Linked DNA regions of Homo sapiens: regions 2 and 3 are each linked to region 1. The links are contacts of gene promoters, found by promoter capture Hi-C in blood cells and fetal thymus (Javierre and others, 2016). All regions are on one chromosome and are shown on one strand. The core of a region is centred on a gene start or on the middle of the fragment in contact, and the rest is flanking DNA. Distances in the headings are between cores, read along the strand shown. Region 1 holds the start of RPS26 (ribosomal protein S26). Region 2 has its middle 42 kb from the start of PYM1. Region 3 overlaps SARNP (SAP domain containing ribonucleoprotein).

Region 1 (3,753 bases), core at 1,254-3,753:
AGTGAGCTGAGATCACGCCACTGCAATTCAGCTTGGGCGACAAAGACTCCGTCTCAAAAAAAAAAAAAAAAAAAAGAAAAAAATTAAATTACATGAATAAGCTTTCTTCCCCATGAAAATAATGTGTGTCACTTCACACTTGGTCTAACACACAAAATCCCCACCTTATCTGGCACAGATACACTTAACATGCAATATTAAGTACAATTTCCATTTTATTTTTCTCCAGAGAATAGCCTGTCTTCAGTCTTTAAGAACTCAGCTCCTTACATGGGCTTTGGTGGGGGACGTGGGGCAGCACCCTGAAAGACAAAGAAACAAAAGAGTAAATTAAAACCCATGGATCCAAGACTCCCTTCCCCCAAAGAACTTGACCACCATCCTCTCACAAACTGATGTATTCAGGCTACAAATGCATGGGAAGCTGATAGAGGTGGAGGGAGAACACTACTCTGCATCCTAAAAACCAATTCTGATTCTAACACTGCTTTGCAGTGTCTCTAAGCATGTTCAGGTGTGGGTCTCACCTGCCTTACAGCTTAACCTGAGGCACAGACCTTAATTTGATACCCCCTGCACCACAGGAGGAAGCAACTTTTTTTTTTTTTTAAGAGACAAGGTCTCACTTTTGCCCTGGCTGGAGCGCAAGTGGTATAATCATAGCTCACTGCAACCTCAAACTCCTGGGCTCAAGTGATCCTCCTGCCTCAGCCTCTCGAGCAGCCAGACTATAGGTTCACACTATCATGCTTGGCTTCCTTCTCAATATTTTTTGAAGAGATGGGGTCTTGAACTGCTGGTTTCTAGCAATCTTCTTGTCCCAGCCTCCCAAAGTGTTGAGGTTACAGGTATAGGACACCCTGACCCTCCAGGATGAAATTTTAACCATCACTCCCCTGGCTTCCATTCTCCTTTTAAAATACTCACCGCAGGTCTAAATCGGGGTGGGGGTGTTCGGTCCTTGCGGGCTTCACGAGATCGATTCCTGACTACTTTGCTGTGAATTGCACAACTCACACAGTAATGTAGCTTCACATACAGCTTGGGAAGCACATAGGCTAAGGAATAGAAAATAGAGTTATACTGGTATTATATACCTACCTTGCTTTTTTGTTACATGAATGAAGAGCACCTTACATGTTTACGTCAATTAAAACTAAACCTATTTAAATGCCTGTCGGGCACATAAAAGCACCCCCAAAGCACCTGTTCAGCCCAATACCTGAGCACATATGTATAACCCTCAGTTTTACAAGTGAATTAACATCCCACGTGAGTTCATCTTGACACCGCAAGGACCAGACTGACATTCTAAATGCAATAAACCAATAATCCAGTTCCTTCTACACCTACACCCGCCCTAATGCCTACCCTGAACCTTGCTCTTTCTATAAAAGGAAAAAAACAAAGCGACGTTCTTATTGCTCCAAACATCATCCTTGCACACCAAACTAGACGGCCTCCATTCTCGAAACGTTGAAGACATTCTTCCTCACCTGTATATTTTCACAAATATTCAAATAATCAATAGCACAAGAATTGTCAAATTTACCAAGTTTCTAGTTTTTGCAATCTCATAACCGAAACAGGCAAACCTTTACCTCAGAGTAAAGGCTGTGCACTCTATCACAAAGTCACCCTCTGCCCAGAAAAGAATCAAAACGGCAAACAAGAGAATTCTCTTCTACCAGTAACAACCTTAAATACGTGGAAATTGCCTGAGAGGCTCCAAAGAACAGAGCCTCCAAAAGGGCGAAGTTGGGCGAAGGCTTTAAGATACTGGGATCCTCACACAGTTCGCGCCGGTGACCCACTTACCATCGAAGACGCTCGCTTCAGAAATGTCCCTGACTGCTGCGGCCTCCACTATGTTTCGAATGACGAATTTCTTAATGGCCTTGTCCTTGGGCACGCATCGGGCACAGTTAGTGCAGCGAATAGGCTGCACGTGGCCGCGGCCCTTTTTGGCACGACCATTGTTCCTTCTTTTCTTTGTCTGCGACAGGATGGGAAAACTGTTAGGAAAACGGCGCAACTCACCCAGCCTCAGTCCCTTTCCGGCCACAAGCCGCACCGGCAGCCTCCAGGAAGGCGCCGCTCGGATCTCCTGTTTCTCCGCAAATCCCGCCGACCCCCAGAGCAAATGAAATGTACACTCGGTCCACCCCTCAGCCGTGCTCCAGGCTCTCACTTCCCCACAATCCCAGAGTCTGCACCCGAACCCCCACCCTCACCACGCAAGAAGACTCACCATCTTGGAGGCACGGACCGGAGAGAGGAGACGGTGCCTGGCAGGGCCCTCCTATATAGCATGAGATCCCTACGCGGACACCGGGAGAATCCTTAGGAGACGGGCTTCAAGAACGGCAACTCACTTTACTCAAATATTCCTTTACATTCAGCATTTCTGCTGAAATCTAGGGTGGAAATGCGTTCCTAGTGTTTATTTATCCATGGAACAAAGTGCACATGGGACTATTTAGCCGGATGGCGGAAGAAAATCGAGGTTATGTGTCTCCCAGCAAGCCTTGCGCCGCGCCGACTCGGAAGCAATTCTGGACGATGCAGTTTTCCGGTATACGCGACGCTAGGCGTGAAAGTTGCCAGACGCTGGACCACAAGGCGCACTCGTTATTAGAGGCCAGAGAGGGACAGATGCTTGGTGGGAATTGTAGTGCGAAGCCAAGAGGCTCCCCCCTCCCCCCCTTCCCCCCTGCCCCAAGTGCTTAGACCGAAGGCGGCGCTGCGCCACCGGGGGACGCCCTGGGCTCATTTCTCTGACAGTCCTTCTACTAGGTAGGTGTAGGATTACGAAGAGGAAGGCCTGAGAGGAAACAAGCATTTTGTGAATCCCTCCTTCCAATATGGAGAAAATCCCACAATGAAGTGCATTGAGGCTGGGGCTATTTCTCATTCATCTTTTTATCTCTGGCACAGTGCCTGGCCCTGTGGTAAGCGTCTTTATAAATATTAACTCATTTAACTTTGAGCAAGCCTATAGGTAGCTACTATTATTATCCTCACTTTAAAGATTGAAGAATTTAGCCCGGCCTGGTGGTGGGCGCCTGTAATCCCAGGTACTCAGGAGGCTAAGACAGGAGAATCTTGAACCTGGGAGGCGGAGTTTCCAGTGAGCCGAGATCGCGCCACTGCACTCTAGCCTGGGTAAAAAGATCGAAACTCTGTCTCAAAAATAAATAAATCAATTAAAAAAAAAGATTGAAGAACTGACGTGCAGTAGGTATTCTGGCTCCGCTGTACTATGCTGTATGTCACCTAACAAATGGATGGAGGAATAGCCTGGACTAATGACTTAAACGTTTTTCACCCAGATTCATAGCACGAATACATTTTACATTGGTACCCAGTACACACACAAACACGATTACATGCACATGCAAAACTGAAACACAAGCTTTATGAAACGATACTTACCCTTGTCATAGGTGTGCTGGTATGTTCTATTCTTTATTTTTACTTAATCTTTCTGTTCTCTATTTTAATAAATGCTGATCAAAAACCACGAAAATTATTTCACCACTCATTAGTGAATCTGACCCCTAATTGAAAGATTATGTGTAAGCTCCATTTACCTCTGAAGAGCCATCGGAAAGACTTAAGCCTTAGGCTGGGTGCAGTGGCTCACGCCTGTAATCCCAACACTTTGGGAGGCCAAGGCAGGCGGATCACCTGAGGTCAGGAGTTCAAGACCAGCCTAGTCAACATAGTGACACCCCACCTCTACTAAAAATA
Region 2 (4,074 bases), core at 351-2,850, 160 kb after region 1:
TTAAAATGGCCAAGTGTGGTGGCTCATGCCTGTTTTCCCAGCACTTTGGGAGGCTGAGGCAGGAGGATTGCTTGAGGTCAGGAGTTTGAGACCAGCCTGGGTAATATAGCAAGAACCCATTTCTATAAAAACATTAAAAAATTAGCTAGGCATGGTGGTGCATGCCTGTAGTCCTAGCTACTCAGGAGGCTGGGGTGAGAGGAATGCTTGACCCCAGAAGATCAAGACTGCAGTGAGCTACAAGTATGTCACTATACCCAGCCTGGGTGACAGAGTGAGACTCAGTCTCACACACAGACAAAAAGATGGTTAAAATGGTACATTTTATGTTATGTATATTTTATCACAATTAAAAAATAAGGAAAAAATTAAAAACGAGAGAGCTAAGATGGTACATTTTCTTTGACACAGTAATTATACTAAGAATTTTTCCTAAGGAAAAAATGAGATGTGTAAAGATTTAGTCATATGGATTTTTAAAGAGTAGTTTTACAAAACAAAATGGAACAAAACAAAACAAAAACAAAGAATTCAATTTTAATGTCCCCAAACAGACCACTGGTGAAATATAATATGATATACAATAAAATGCCATATAGCCACCAAAAAAAACCCCAAAACCCACTATTCTATCTGAAGATAGATTAGAAAAAAAAATAAAGAACTATGTTGTAAAAGGATAATTTTTTTTTTGAGATGGATCTTGCTCTTGTCGCCTAGGGTAGAGCGCAGTGGCGTGATCTCAGCTCACTGCAACCTCCTCCTCCTCCTGCCTCAGCCTCCCAAGTAGCTGGGATTACAGGCACGCACCACCAGGCCTGATTAATTTTGTTGTTGTTGTCGTTGTTGTTTTGAGATGGAGTTTCGCTCTTGTTGCCCAAACTGGAATGCAATGGCGTGAACTTAGCTCACTGCAACCTCTGCCTCCTGGGTTCAAGAGATTCTCCTGCCTCAGCCTCCCGAGTAGCTGGGATTACAGGCAGGCGCCACCATGCCCGGATAATTTTTTGCATTTTTAGTAGAAATGGGGTTTCACCATGTTAGCCAGGCTGGTTTTGAACTCCTTACCTCAGGCGATCCACCTGCCTTGGCCTCCCAAAGTGCTGGGATTACAGGTGTGAGCCACAGTGCCCAACCTGATATGAATTCCTTCTGCCTGGAGTTCCTCTCCTTGAGTGACAAGCTTGTTTTAAATGGGTTGTAAAAACAATGCCTTATCTAACAATAGTGTTTCAGATAATAAAGTGCAGGCTGTAACAATCCTCAAACACTAAAATACAAAGGCAAATTCAGCGAATTATTTCTATTTATTCCTACTAGGTTAGGAGCTCCTCATGGCTGTAGAAATGACTAGTCTTATCCATTTCTAAATCCATGATTCTTGGTACCTAGTGTATAATGAAACATAATATAGCTGTTTGTTTTTTGAACAAATCTAGTTCCCAGGGTTTGCTCTCAGAATACCGGGTTCAAATCTCAGTTCTTTTTTTTTTTTCTTTTTGAGACAGAGTCTCCCTCTGTCTCCTGGGCTGGAGTGCCGTGGCGTGATCTCAGCTCACTGCAACTTCCACCTACTGTGCTCAAGCAATCCTCTCACCTCAGCCACCCAAGTAGCTAGGACTACAGGCATGCACCACAATGCCTGGGCTGATTTTTAAATTTTATTTGTAGAGACAGGGTCTTGCTATATTGCCCAGGCTGGTTGTGAACTTCTGGCTTCAGGTGGTCCTCCTGCCTGGGCTTCCCAAAGTGTTGGAGTTACAGGCATGAGCCATCATGCCCAGCCTAAAGTTAGTTATTATTGATGAAGTTTTGAAATAGAGAACTGATGGTAAGATCATGGAAAATGAGGAGAAACCAGGTATGTACTTCTCAAGATACCTCAACAAAATAGTATTTCTTTTCCTGATGTGTTGACCATGGTCTGGATCTTGCCAATATCCCTACAGACATCTGGTTTTGTCAGCACAGACAGTAGATCCAATTCTTGAGGATAGACCCATATTAGTCAAGCTTACAAGGCTGATTTATAAACTAGAACATATAAATTAGAATGTCAGTTTATCATTTTATACAAACCAAACCTACCATGAGGAATAGAACACTTGAGTCAGCACAACCAGCACTCTCACTGCCCACAAACATTGCTCCTTGGTTCACCAAATTATATTCAGAAGGTTACTTGGTGAGTATGCATATTAGTTTCCTGTGACTGCTATAACAAATTACCACAACTTGGTGGCTTAAAATAGCAGAAATGTATTCTCTCAAAGTACTAGAGGCTAGAAGTCCAAAGTCAGTATCACTGGATCAAAGCAAAGGTGTCGGCCAGGCATGGTGGTGCATGCCTGTAGTCCCAGCAACTAGGGAGCTACTAGTACTAGGGAGGGTGAGTTAGGAGGATCGATTGAGCCCAGGGGGTGGAGGCTGCAGTGAGCTATGACTGTGCCACAGCACTCCAGCCTGGGTGGCAGAGCGAGACCCTGTCTCAGAAAAAGAAAAAAAAGCCAGGTGCGGTGGCTCACACCTGTAATCCCAGCACTTTGGGAGGCCGGTGGATCACCTGAGGTCAGGAGTTCGAGACCAGCCTGACCAACGTGGTGAAATCCCATCTCTACTAAAAATACAAAATTAGCTGGGTGTGTGGTGCATGCCTGTAATCCCAGTTACTTGGGAGGCTGAGGCAGGAGAATCATTTGAATCCAGGAGGTACAGGTTGCAGTGAGCCAAGTTTGCACCATTGCACTCCAGCCTGGGCAACAAGAGTGAAACTCTATCTCAGAAAAAAAAAAAAGGAAAGAAAAATCAAGGTGTTGACAAGGCTGCACTCTCCCTCCCCAGGGGCTATAGGGGAGAATCTAATCCTTGCCTTTTCCAGCTTCTGGTAGTTGCCAGCATTTCTTGGTTTGTGACAGCATCACTCCAATCCCTGCCTTTATCTTCCTTCACATTGTCTTCTCTCTTTGTGTGTGAAATCTCTCTCTCTCTCATGAGGATACAGGTGATTGTATTTGGGGCCCAGCCACATAATCTAGAGTAATATAATCTCAAGATCCTGAACTTAATCACATCTGCAAAGACACCCCCCGCCCCCCAACCTTTTTTTTTTTTTTTTTTTTTGCCATATAAGGCATTGTTTACAGGTTGTAGGGATTAGGAAGTTAAGATCTTTTTTCAGGGAACATTTTTCAACTTATCACAGCATGGAAATTGGGACTAGGGGAGTGACCTGGTTTAGATGTGTGTCCCCTCCAAATCTCATGTTGAAATGTGACCTTCAATGTTGGAGGCTGGAGGTGGGTGTTTGGGTCATGCGGGCAGATCCCTCATGAATGGCTTGGTGCCCTCCCCATGGTAATGAATGAGTTCTCACTCTATTAGCTCACACAAAAGCCGGTTATTTAAAAGAGCCTGGAATCTCTCTTGCTTCCTCTCTCGCCATGTGACACGACTGCTCCCGTCACCTTCTGCCATGAGTAAAAGCTTCGGAAGACCTCACTGGTGCCATATTTGTACTGCCTGCAGGGCCGTGAGTCAAATTAACCTCCTTTCTTTGTAAATTACCCAGTCTTAGGTATTCCGTTATAGCAATGCAAAATGGACTAATACAGGGAGTGAGTTATACCGCTAGAAAGATTGAAGACATCAGGCTGCCATTGTGTGATGCATTTACTTCCACAGTTGGGATGGCCTAGTCAAGTGTCCTGAATACTCAAGTCCATTGCCAAGATTTATTCTCCCAAATACCATCCTTGAACGGTCACTACCAGTGTTTGCTTCTTTTTTTTTTGAGACAGAGTCTCACTCTGTTGCCCAGGCTGGAGTGCAGTGGCATGATCTTGGTTCATTGCAACCTCTGCCTCCTGGGTTCAAGCTATTCTCATGTCTCAGCCTCTCAAGTAGCTGGGGTTACAGGCGCCCGCCACCATGCCCAGCTAATTTTTGTATTTTTAGTAGAGACAGGGTTTCGCCATGTTGGTCAGGTTGGCCTCGAACCCTTGACCTCAGGTGATCCACCTGCCTTGGTCTCCCAAAGTGTTGGGATTACAGGCGTGAGCCACCACACCTGGCCTG
Region 3 (3,793 bases), core at 21-2,520, 250 kb after region 1:
TTCCTCTCAATAGATGACAGTTAAAGGAACCAAAGCTCTAGTGGACTTCATGTTTCTTTGGCTTAGGGGGTGGCAGAGAGATAATAGGGCAGAGAATGGTGACTCAGGTGAATTCTTACACATTTCTGAGGTTGTGGTTTAGAATATCAGTTTTCTCATTTTAAAAAATCTCTTTCTTTTCTAGGGCAGCAGAGAAGAAAGTGGTGAAAATTACATCTGAAATACCACAGACTGAGGTAGGTATTCTGCTCCCTAGTAGAACAGTCTCTACATTTCTCTCTCCCTCTTACCCTTTATTATATCTGCATCATCCTCTAAAATTTATTCACAGGCAGAAAATCAGTATTGGCAGATTTTGGTGTTGATACGTTTCACTGCCAGCTACTCTTTGGAAAATATTTGGCTGGCGTAGGGGTAGTCATTCTTGAAGTTGTAGTCTTTTTATATGTAATATTATGGTCTTAACAGTGACTCTCTTTGAGATGTTTTCAAACCTAGGATTAGATTTAGGAGGATTGTACCTTGAAAATGTATTGGTAGATGTGACTCTTATGTTGCTACTGGCCAGTAGCTGAGATTGAAATTTCTCTGGTTTCTGTGGTGCAGGACTGTGAAACCAGGTTCCATTTGAGATCTTGTGTTCAGTATCATACTTGCAAAGTAGAGAATTATTAAACTCTTTTAGAATGGCATAAAACAATGCTGCCTCATTTCTAACTGAAAGAATACCATTGGTGTTGGAACCAAGCTATTCCTTTGATCACTTTTCAAAGGTCAGCCAAACATAGCTTTTGACTTCTTGGCTTCATGCATAATGTAGGTTTTACTTTATTTCTCCCTTTTGTTTTTGAGGGCATCTAGTAATAGTCTTTTTTTGTTTGCTTTGTGGGAAGGGCCGTTAAGTCCTAGCATGGACACAACCTGATATCTTCTAGGATTGTCAGTATTTTCAGTTTAGACCCTAAGAAATTACTTCTGATGTTTTTAAGATACCTACCTTTGGCTGGGCCAGGTGGCTCACGCTTGTAATCCCAGCAGTTTAGGAGGCTGAGGTGGGCAGTTCACTTGAGGCCAGGAGTTCAATATCAGCCTGGCCATCATGGTGAAATCTCATTTCTACTAAAAGCACAAAAATTAGCTGGGCACAGTGGCACAGTCCTGTAATCCCAGCTACTCAGGAGGCTGAGCCACGAGAATCGCTCGAACCCAGGAGGCTGAGGTTGCAGTGAGCCGAGATCATGCCACTGCACTCCAGGCTGGGGGACAGAGTGAGACTCTTTTTTTTTTTTTTTTTTTTTTTTTTAAAGATACCTACCTCTGACTGACTTTCTTAAACCATAAATTGACTTTTTTTTCTCCCTTTTGTCTATTTTTACTTAGAGAATGCAGAAGAGGGCTGAACGATTCAATGTACCTGTGAGCTTGGAGAGTAAGAAAGCTGCTCGGGCAGCTAGGTGAGTGTCCCCAGCCTTTTGGGCCTCTGATAGGGGTGTTGTAAAGATGAAGATGTGTGATCCTAGCTTTTAGGTATAATTGTTGATTTTAAGTAGAATAGAGGCTTGCTGAAGGATATGAACACTTTTTTGACCCTATTCAGAACATGTCTACTGATTTGGTTATAGTAGCTATAAATTGAGCTTTATTGAGAAGGGTTTTTGTAACAGTTAAAGCCAGGAACTGACTACTACTAATTCTGATAAGGCTTCCTTTTAGCTTAATTTCTGAACCTCTTTCATGGGGTTGTTAGAATTAGCTAATGATTGCAAGGCTTGAGATCACAAGCAAGAAGTGTCATATGTATACTTGACACGGAGACAGACAAACCAGGAGTGTGAACAGCTTCCTAAAATTTAGTTTGTTTTTCCTTCTTCAGGTTTGGGATTTCTTCAGTTCCAACAAAAGGTAAGAGTACAGAGATACTTCTGAGAAAGTTACCTTTTTATTCTTTCTTTTCTGGTATAACAGGTTTTATTTCTCCAAAATAAGGTAAATTTGCTAGCTGTAGAAACTCTTTAAGAGATTGTAACATTCATCTCCTGCTTTAGGTAAAATTATACTTAGGCCTTCCTGGGCAATTAAGAGAGATACTGAATGTTATGAGAGGATAGGAAGTGCCAACATTTGTCTGTCTTTTCTTGAACATCTTCAAAGAAGTTTCTCTAGTACTTTGCTTACTTATTCTGGGGTCTCAACTGCATAAAATTATTGCATACTATCTAGTGTTATACTGGCTATTATAAGTGATAAAAGGGAAAAGAATATCTTCTACCTTAACAGTTTTACTTCTAGGAACGTATAAGGAAATAGTCTTGAATGTGCATAAAGACTTAGCCTCAGGGATTATCACAGCATTATTTATAGTGATCAATAACTGGAAACAACCAACTGTACAACAGAGAATTAGTTATTAAATGTGTGCCATGGTATAGCAGACTACTGTGCTGAAATAATATTGAAAGATATTTATCAGAGATATTAATGAAAAAAGTTACAAAATTATATTAACAGTACGTTCCCATTTTAGTCATGTAAGAGTGCATGTATAGATAGGAAAAAAGCTTGGAAGGATACATAGTAGACACTTCAGCAAGGTTTGAACTGCACAGGTCCACTTATACTTGGATTTTTTTTTTTTTCAATAAATACAGTTTGCTGTCTGTATCTGAGGGTTCACCATAACCAAATGCGGTTCAGAAATACAGTATTCTTGGGATGTGAAACCTGCAGATATGGAGGAGCAGCTTATATCTGCTGCAGGACTTGAGTGTGGTGGATTTTGGTATCAGCTGGAGGGGTGGGTTTGGATCCAATCCCCTGAGGAAATGGAGGGACGACTGTATTCTAAATTGTTAATACTCTTATCTCTGGTTGGTGGAATTTTGAATGATTTATTTCTTTTTGCTTGTCTGTGTTATTAAAATCCATACAATGAATATGTATCACTTTTGTAATGAATTAGAGGAAATTATTACTATTTTTTGAGACACAGTCTTGCTCTGTCACCCATGCTGGAGTGCAGGGACGTGATCTGGTTCACTGCAACCTCTGCCTCCCAGGTTCAAGCTATTTTCCTGCCTCAGCCTCCTGAGTAGCTGGGACCACAGGTGCGTGACACCATACCCAGCTAATTTTTGTATTATTAGTAGAGACAGGTTTCACTGTGTTGGCCAGGCTGGTCTTGAACTCCTAACCTCAAGTGATCCACTCACCTCTGCCTCCCAAAATGGTGGGATTACAGGTGTGCCGAGCCTGAAACAGTTATTATTTTTAAGAAACGGCTGGGTATGGTGGCTCATGCCTGTAATCCCAGCACTTTGGGATGCCAAGCCGGGAGGATCAGTTGAACCCAGGAGTTGGAAACTAGCTTGGGAAACAAAGTGACACCTTGTTTCTACAAAAAATTAAAAAATTAACTAGACATGGTGGCAGGTGTTTGTAGTCCCAGCTACTTGGGGCGCTGGGGTGGGAGTATCTCTTAAGCCTGGGAGGTCAAGGCTGGCAGTGAGTGTGATCTTGCCATGACACTCTAGCCTGGGTGACAGAGCAAGATCCTGTCTCAGAATTTAAAAAAAGGACAGGCTGGGCACGGTGGTTCACACCTGTAGTCCCAGCACTTTGGGAGGCCAAGGCAGGTGGATTGCTTAAGGTCAGGAGTTTGAGACCAGCCTGGCCAACATGGCGAAACCCTTCTCTACTAAAAATACAAAAAAAAAAAAAAAAAAAAAGCTGGGTGTGGTGTTGCGCGCCTGTAATTCCAGCTATTTGGGAGGCTGAGGCAGGAGAAGTGCTTGAA

The links. Contacts are between HindIII fragments. The CHiCAGO score rates a contact against its expected background, and 5 or more counts as called.
Region 2: a contact is called between a fragment that was not itself captured here and the fragment with the promoter of RPS26 in region 1, in 1 of 17 cell types (megakaryocytes). The highest score is 5.2, in megakaryocytes.
Region 3: a fragment that was not itself captured here is called in contact with the fragment with the promoter of RPS26 in region 1 in 13 of 17 cell types (endothelial precursors, M2 macrophages, megakaryocytes and 10 more); the score reaches 12.0 in endothelial precursors.

Annotation. Positions count from the first base shown.
Region 1 is chr12:56,040,668-56,044,420 of GRCh38, reverse strand. It overlaps RPS26 (ribosomal protein S26), which reads right to left and starts at 2,503. Exons shown (of 4, transcript NM_001029.5): 1 at 2,252-2,503; 2 at 1,819-1,996; 3 at 928-1,058; 4 at 1-302. The coding sequence starts at 2,254. The coding sequence ends at 267. RefSeq lists enhancers at 1,815-2,074, 2,215-2,544, 1,993-2,782 and a silencer at 2,695-2,754. The HindIII fragment of the contact is 3,314 bases long and covers 104-3,417 here.
Region 2 is chr12:55,883,411-55,887,484 of GRCh38, reverse strand. No RefSeq gene overlaps it. Among named protein-coding and RNA genes, the nearest start is that of PYM1, 42 kb to the left of the region's middle. The HindIII fragment of the contact is 830 bases long and covers 1,186-2,015 here.
Region 3 is chr12:55,792,468-55,796,260 of GRCh38, reverse strand. It overlaps SARNP (SAP domain containing ribonucleoprotein), which reads left to right. Exons shown (of 11, transcript NM_033082.4): 5 at 185-236; 6 at 1,381-1,454; 7 at 1,874-1,902. Among named protein-coding and RNA genes, the nearest start is that of SARNP, 23 kb to the left of the region's middle. The HindIII fragment of the contact is 2,580 bases long and covers 1-2,560 here.